Linked DNA regions of Homo sapiens: region 2 is linked to region 1. Evidence: promoter capture Hi-C in human tissues and cell types (Jung and others, 2019). All regions are on one chromosome and are shown on one strand. The core of a region is centred on a gene start or on the middle of the fragment in contact, and the rest is flanking DNA. Distances in the headings are between cores, read along the strand shown. Region 1 holds the start of ERMARD (ER membrane associated RNA degradation). Region 2 overlaps WDR27 (WD repeat domain 27).

Region 1 (4,083 bases), core at 1,522-4,021:
TGTGTATAATATTGGCTGACTTGCTATACTTATTAAGAGTATTTTATTCCTTTTATTAAGAATCTTTATAATCTTTTTTAAATTGGGAATAGGCTTTAAATATGATCAACTTTTTGGCATCTAATAATACCTGAGTTTCTACTGATATAGCATTTCCTTATATTGAGCCTACATATAGCCCTAAAATAAAATGAGCTTGGGCAGGAGATATTACTTTTATTTCTAAATGCCACATGCTAGTGTTTAAGATTTTTTTTTTCTTTTCTGAGACAAGAGTCTCACTCTGTTGCCCAGGCTGGAGTGCAGTGGCATGATCTCGGCTCACTGCAACTTCCTCCTCCCGGGTTCAAGCAATTCTCGTGCCTCAGCCTCCCTGAGTAGCTGGGATTACAGGTGCCTACCACCAAGCCCGGCTAATTTTTGTATTTTTAGTAGAGACGGGGTTTTGGCATGTTGGCCAGGCTGGTTTTGAACTCCTGACCTCAGGTGATCCATCCGCCTTGGCCTCCCAAAGTGGGGATTACATGCATGGGCCACTGCACCCGGCTGTATTTAAGAATTTCAATGCATGTGCACAAGTGAGAACAATCACGTTTTCCAATTTTAGTAATCTACTTCGCATTTTGTTACCTTTGATCGCAACAACAGGAACTCATTCGTGTTAAGCCAAAGTATAATTTATTGGAAAGATACAGTTTACATAACAGCAGAGAAGGCTGATGAACCAGATTCAGAAAGACACAGGGAACACTTTAGCTTCTCATCTTCAATGTGAATAAACCTCAATCATTTTCTTTGCATTATTTCAAAGAATTCATCTAATTAGCTTAGTTTGGGTCTCATCCTTATTAAAAAGTTAAGGGAAGTAGCTGACAATCTCACCAAAGCTCTATACAATTGCAGATGAGTTAATTCTCTAAAAGTTAACTGAGGTGCTACCACTAGAAAAAAAGAAATGGAGGCAAGACAGATAAAATCAAGAGATGGTCATATTGATGAAACAGTATGTCTTAAATTTTCCTATGCTCCAAAATAGGGAAATTAACAGCTACCTTAAATTAGAAATAACTAAGTGAACAGTTTCCTCAGGTACATTTAGTGAGCATTTGTAGAGTCCTTTCTCAATTTCTTCCCAATTATTGTTCTATTCAAATTTCTCACCTCTAAAAGAATCAACTTTAAAGATAGCTATAATTGATCACATCCATATCAAATACTAATAATTACTTTGGTCCATGTCCCCTCACTCCCAGATTTTAACCTATATACCAGGTGCACCTATGTGTCTCCTCATTTTGAGTTCAGGCTCATTGAATTTTAAAGACCACTTCAGACCTCAGATAGGCAGTAAGTTTATAAAAGCCACCCTTGTCTGCCTCAATATATAGAAATTTTTCTTTACTGTTGGTGACCTGTTACTCAGACTCATTGCCAAGAAATACAGCATAGTGTTTGGGAGTGTGAAGTTTTAAGTCCAACTGATTTAGGTTTCTAGCCCTGCTCTGCTCTTTTTCTTAGCTGTGTAAACTTGGCCTGTTTGCTTTTCCTCCTTTATTTAGTTCGTTCTTTCCTCTGTAAAATGTAGACACCAGGGAAACAAGAACCTGAAATTTCGCCATTATTTTGAGAATTCTCTTTTTAAGAGTAATCTTAAAATGTTTTAGGGTCTTCAAAAAATTGTTTTGCCTGTCATCTCTATCTTCATCCTATTATAGGTCCACGAAGTAAGTACGAAGAGAAACCAGTATAGGCCAATTGGACCGAGTACTAGCATACAGGTTCTGGTCCCAGCTCTATCATTACAGCTTTGTATCCTTGGGCAAACTAATTTTCTGTTAAAGTATCAATAAAATATAGAGTCTTTAATACATTAACGGTTTTCAAAGCCTAATCATATAGAAATACCTGTTATACCACCAATAAAACTGAATAATGACCCTTTCCATCAATATCAGTAAGTTTTGGACAGGGTATTTTCAACTTAAGTTTTTTTCTCCTGTACATTCTTCAAATATCCAGACTGCTGATGTTTTAAAAACCCAAAACATGGCACTATTCTGCCTGGTTTATCAAATTATTTTTTTAATACAACACACTCATTTTTCGCTAGCAAAACTGCTTATAATGGCACTAAATACACTAACATACTGTGTTTTAGTACAAAGCAATAATACTCAGAGTACTCTCAGGAAATCCGCAAGCTGAGTAAATTTGAAAAGAAGATCTTGTAACCACCCTTCCAATCGACTTATGTAGGGTTCTATGGCCCTAATTAAAAAACAAGAAAACTTTAGCACTCAAGTCCAAAGGGGACTGCCCAACTCAGTCTCAGGCTTCAATTTCGCATCTGGGGAAAAAAGAAACACAAAAGGGAGATGCTGCCTCCTTGGCTCTGGGGGTGGTGACGGGAGCGGGGCCCACTGGGGAGCGATTTCACTTAAACGGTCGGACATAGCCGTCTCGGGCCCCTAGCAGTCTCCGCACTCACTGCCTCCTTCTCGAACATGCTAGGCCTCCTTTCTTTCCTAGGCGTCACCGGAGCCTGCTGAGGGGTCTGGTTCGGGGTCTGGATGGGGCTCGACTTCACGCCTCGGCCTCGCTTCTCCATCTCGCTCTGTTCTCCAAGACGCCCACCGCCTCCCCTTCACCGCCGGCGGTCAAACGCCCTAGCCAGTCCCGCGAGGGCGGAAGTCTCCCACCTGCGCCTCGTACGGTAGGAAGTGCCCGCCAGGGCTCCAAAGCGCCTGGAGGAGGGGCGCGCAGGCGCCTGCGTCATTCACGCGCGCCGCAGCGGGGCACCGGAAGTTATGGAGGTAGGGCGGGTGTAGGGCCCGGTTCGATCCCGAGCTAGGCAGGGAGTCGGCGCCAGGCTGGGTGGTGCTCGGCTACGCGGAGTGGGCGAGCGAGCACGCGCCTGCGGTGGCCGGCGGTCCCGCGCTGGAGGGCGCTGGCGACGTCGCGGCCCTGGCCTCTGTGGCGGTATCGGACGCTCGGCCCTGCAAGACGCCTGGCGGGCCCTGCCGGCCTCCCTGGGCCAGGCTCGGTTTCTCCGTCGCCTCCTGGCCCTGAGCTGGAACGCGGCGGACGGTCAGGGAGGGCTGTGCGCGGTGGCGCGGGGGCGGAAAGCCGCAGGTCGGGCTCTCACCTGACCGTGGCTCGTTCCTAGAAGCGCAGTTTCCTAGTCGCTGCCTGTAGGGTCCACACTCGGACAGTAAATTTGTGTTCATCGCCGGGCGTGGTGGGGCCTGTGGTCCCATCTACTCCGTAGGCTGAGGTGGAAGGATCGCTTTAGCCCAGGAGGTGGAGGCTGCAGTGAGCCGAGATCGCGCCACTGCACCCCTGTCTGGGCGACGGCGAGACCCCGTCTCCAAAATGATGATAACGATAACTACCATTTTTGAGTACTATGTGCTAGATGCTTTTCATGTGTTATCTGATTACTGTAGCCCTACCAGGTGCAGCCTGGCACCGTTTTATTTCACTTAGAACTGAGATTCCGATAAAGTAACTTTTCCAAGGCAAGAGGTAGTCAGAGGCTGAGGAATGATTCAAATTTAAGTCCAGCTCCAAAGCACCGGCCCAGTGTAGTCTGCAGAGTTCCAGCCCCATAGAGCCACATGGAGGATGCGAGTGACAATCGCCAATCAACAAATAGTTGATGTAGATTTCTTTAGTGATGACTTAATTGTTAGGGCCTGCTGGGATTGTTCGAAAACCAGGGCTGAGAGTGGAAAGTGCAACTTCTGGGTGCAGGAGGAGCAAACAGGGCAACTGATAGCAGTTTCCACATTAGGAAGCTGCCCAGAGCTAATTATGACTGTCACAACACAGCCCCCCCTTAACTCAACACACCAAAATAAAGAGCTTCGGTTCCGCTTTAGATCCTGAATTTGACTTCTTTGCAGGTTTATACGATGGTCTTAGTGTCATGTGGGGTAATTGTGAGGATTTCGATTGTATTTAATTCTCCATGGAAAACCAGTACGGTTTGCTACTTTTTACATGGCAGGGAAGGCTAAACTTTACCTCTGCCCATCTTAGTTCGGAGTGACCCCTTTAACAAATGAAAGGATAACAAGAAAA
Region 2 (4,317 bases), core at 1,391-3,890, 200 kb before region 1:
ATTTCTCATGTAGACAGATGCAAAAATCCTCAATAAAATATTAATAAGTTGAATCCAACAATGTACGAAAGAAATTATACACCTTGACCAGGTGGGATTTATCCCAGGTATGCAAGGCTGATTCAACATTTAAAAATCAATTAATGTAATCTATCCCATCAATAGGCTAAAAAATATCAATAGATACTGAAAATCATTTGACAAAATACCACATCCATTCATAATAAAAATTCTCAGTAAACTAAGAACAGAGAACTTCTTCAACTTCATAAAGAATATCTACCAAAAACCTACATCTAACATCACACTTAATGGTGAGAAATTTAAAGCTTTCCCACTAAGATCAGGAACAAAGCAAGGATATCCCCTTTCACTGCTGCTTTTCAACATTATACTGGAATTCCTAGCTAATGCAATAAGACAAGAAAAGGAAATAAAAGGTATACAGATTGGTAAAGAAGAAACAAAACTGACTTTGTAGATGACATGATTGTCTACATAGAACATTTGAAAGAATTTACCAAAAAAAAAAAACCTTCTGGAACAAACAGTGATTTTAGCAGGATTGCAGAATTCAAGGTCAATATACAAAAGTTAATCACTTTCAAGGTTAATACATAAAAGTTAATCACTTTCCTATATACCAACAATGAACAAGTGGAATTTGAAATTAAAAACACAATATCATTTACATTAGCAACCCAAAAATGAAACAGGTATAAATCTATCAAAATAAGTACAAGGTCTATATGAGGAAAATGACAAAACTCTAATGAAGGATATCAAAGAAGAACTAAATAAATGGAGAGCTATTCCATGTCCATGGATAGGAAGACAATACTGTCCAGGTGTCGGTTCTTCCCAATTCGATCTACACATTCAGTGCAACCCCAATCAAAAGTGCAGCTAATTATTTTGTGTATATCAACAAAATGATTCTGAAATTTACATAGAAAGGCAAAAAAACTATAATAAACAATAATTTATTGTATTTTTTAAACAGCTAGAAGAGAGGATTCTGAATTTTACCAACACCAAGAAATAATAAAGGTTTGAAGTGACTGATATGTGAATTACCCTGATTTGATCATTATAAAGTGTATACATGTATTGAAACATCACACTGTATGTATGAAAAGCAAAAGACCTTTCATATATACATAGAAATATTTCATATTTCATATACTGAGAAGAGCCAACTCAGTATTGAAAGAGAAGAACAAAGTTGAAGGGGTAACAGTTCCCTACTTCAAGACTTACTATGAATCTATAGTAATCAAGACAGTGCTGTGTTGGAAAAAGAAGAGACAAACAGAACAATGGAACAGAATAGAGAGCCCAGAAATAGACCCACATAAATACAGCCAACAGATCTTTGACAGAGGAGCAAAGACAATACAATGAAGAAAATAGTCTTTAACAAATGGTGCTATAGAACAACTGGACATTCACATGCAAAAAAACAAATGAATCTGGACATAGACCTTACACCCTTCACACAAAAGTTAACTCATAACTGATCACAAACCTAACTGCAAAATGCAAAGCTATATAATTCCTAGAAGATAACATAGAAGAAAACCTAGATGACCTTGGGTATGGCAATGAATTTTTAGATACAACAAAAAAAGCATGATCTATGAAAGAATAACTGAAAATCAGGACTTCACTGGAATTAAAAACTTCTCTGAAATGGATAATGTCAAGTGAATGAGAAGATAAGCCACAAACCGGGAGAAAATAAACGCAAAAGACAAATCCGATAAAGAACTGCTATCTAATATATACAAAAGAAAATAACCCGATAAAAAATTGGGCCAAAGATGTCAACAGATGCCTCACCAAAGAGGGACATACCGATGGCAAATAAGCATATAAAAATACTCCACATCACATCATCAGGAAAATGCACATTTAAACAACAATGAGATTATTTGCACACCTATGAGAATGGCTAAAGTCCAGAACATGGAAAACACCAAATGCTGGTGAGGATGTGGAGCAACAGGAACTCCCATTCATTGCTGGTGGGAGTGCAAAATGGTGCAGCCTTTTTGGAAGACAATTTGGCAGTTTCCCACAGAACTAAACATACACTTACCATATGATTCAGAAACTGTACTCCTTGGTATTTACCAAAATAAGCTGAAAATTGTTCATCACACAAAAATTGCACATGGATGTTTACAGCAGCTTTATTCATAATTGCAAAATATGAAAGCTACAAAGACGTGCTTCAGTAGGTGAACTGATAAATAAAACTGTGGTGCATCCAGATGACAGAGTGTGATCCAGCACTAAAAAGAAGTGAGCAAGCAAGCCATGAAAAGACACAGAGGAAGCTTAAACACATGCTATGCAGAGAAAGATGCCAATCTGAATAGGCTGCATGCTGTGTGATTCCAACTCTATGATCTCCTGGAAAAGGCAACACTATGGAGACAGTAAAGAAACCAGTGGTTGACAGGAGTTAGGAAGGAGAGAGGGATGAATAGGCAGATTCTTAAGGCAGTGGAACTACAGTATGTAGAGAACATACACTATGATGCTGTCATGGTGGATGATGCCATTATAGGCCTGTCAGAACCCATAGAAGGCACACCACCAAGAGTGAATGCTGATAAACTGTGGACTTTGGTGATGATGATGTGTCAATGTAGGTTCATCAACAATGGTAACAGTAACAAACGTACCACTCTGGTGGAAGATAGGGACAGGGGGCCAGGAGGCACAAGGGAAATCTCCATACTTTCCTCACAATTTTGCTGTGAACCTAAAACTGCTCTTTAAAAAGAATTTGTTTAAGTAAACTTTCAGAAAAGCTGCACATATCGTTATAAGAGTGTTCAGTTACTTTGTATGTTTCTAAAATAACACATCTAGCATCAACAAGAAGGTTAATGAGGCCAGGAACTGCTGTCCACTGAGTACATGAAATGGTAGTCTAGGCTACTGGGCCCACAGATCCAGTTAATGCTTGTGTGTCATTCTGAGTTATTTTTATTGTTATTGTATTTTATATTATTTATTTATTTATTTATTTTGAGATAGGGTATCACTCTGTCACCCAGGCTGGAGTGCAGTGGCACAATCTCGGCTCATTGCAACCTCCACCTCCTGGGTTCAAGCAATTCTCCTGCCTCAGCCACCTGAGTAGCTAGGACTACAGGCATGTGCCACCATACTCAGGCTAGTTTTTGTATTTTTAGTAGAGATGAGGTTTCACCATGATTTCCAGGCTGGTCTTGAACTGCTAACCTCAAGTGATCCACTCGCCTCAGCCTCCCAAAGTGCTGGGATTACAGGTGTGAGCCACCACACCTGGCCTTATTTTATTTTTGAGACAGGGTCTTTCTCTGTTGCCCAGGCTGGAGTGCAGTGACTCAATCACAGCTCACTGCAGCCTTGACCTCCTGGGCTCAAGCAATCCTCCCACCTCAGCATCCCAAGTAGCTGAGACCACAGGCATGCGCCACCACGCCTGGTTAACTTTTGTATGTTTTGTAGAGACGGGGTCTCACTATGTTGCCCAAGCTGGTCTTGAACTCCTGGACTGAAGCAATCTGCCTACCTCGGCCTCTCAAAGTGGAGGGTTTACAGGTGTCAGCCACCGCACCTGGACATTTTGAGTTATTTTTATGTGGGCATAGATTAAAATAAATAAAGAACATAAACTCTTCTAAGGAAAAATAAATGAGGAAAAATACTATAAAATTCCAAAGGCGTTTGAGCTGGCATGTCCATTCATGCTATTTTGGAAAGGTGAATGAGTCCCCACTTTATAAATACAAATCATACTTCAGTTGGATGAAACTACTACAGTAAACAAACTGATTTCTACCACCCCTACAGCTAATGAACTGGGACTCATAAGGCTCCAATCACTTCGCTAAGTAATTTAGACACAGAGAGACCCCACGCTCACCCTCACTGGGCCCCCTTATCTGGGTTACGTTTTTCACAGAACTTACCACTATCTCTCCTGATTTACTCCAGGCACCTCCTAGTTGGTCTCCTGTGTCCAACCTCTTCCTCTAGTTTTTTCTCAACATAACAACCTGAGTGACTCTGTTAAAACAAGAGGAGGATCCAGTACTTTAGGAGGCCAAGGTGGATGGATTACCTGAGGTCACGAGTTCGAGACCAGCCTGGCCAACATGGTGAAACCCTGTCTCTACTAAAAATACAAAAAAATTAGCTGGGCATGGTGGTGGGTGCCTGTAATCCCAGCTACTCAGGAGGCTGAGGCAGGAGAATCACTTGAACCCAGGAGGTGGAGGTTGGAGTGAGCTGAGATTGCGCCATTGCACTCCAGCC

Evidence for each region. Contacts are between HindIII fragments. The study calls those that stand out against the background at their distance.
Region 2: a fragment that was not itself captured here is called in contact with the fragment with the promoter of ERMARD in region 1 in 2 of the 25 tissues and cell types used here (IMR-90 fibroblasts and lymphoblastoid cells).

The regions. Positions count from the first base shown.
Region 1 is chr6:169,748,851-169,752,933 of GRCh38, forward strand. It overlaps ERMARD (ER membrane associated RNA degradation), which reads left to right and starts at 2,772. Exons shown (of 18, transcript NM_018341.3): 1 at 2,772-2,813. The coding sequence starts at 2,808. It overlaps DYNLT2 (dynein light chain Tctex-type 2), which reads right to left and starts at 2,722. Exons shown (of 4, transcript NM_174910.3): 1 at 2,489-2,722. The coding sequence starts at 2,608. The HindIII fragment of the contact is 9,893 bases long and covers 1-4,083 here.
Region 2 is chr6:169,547,394-169,551,710 of GRCh38, forward strand. The region is part of intron 25 of WDR27 (WD repeat domain 27); the gene reads right to left. Among named protein-coding and RNA genes, the nearest start is that of WDR27, 150 kb to the right of the region's middle. The HindIII fragment of the contact is 8,324 bases long and covers 1-4,317 here.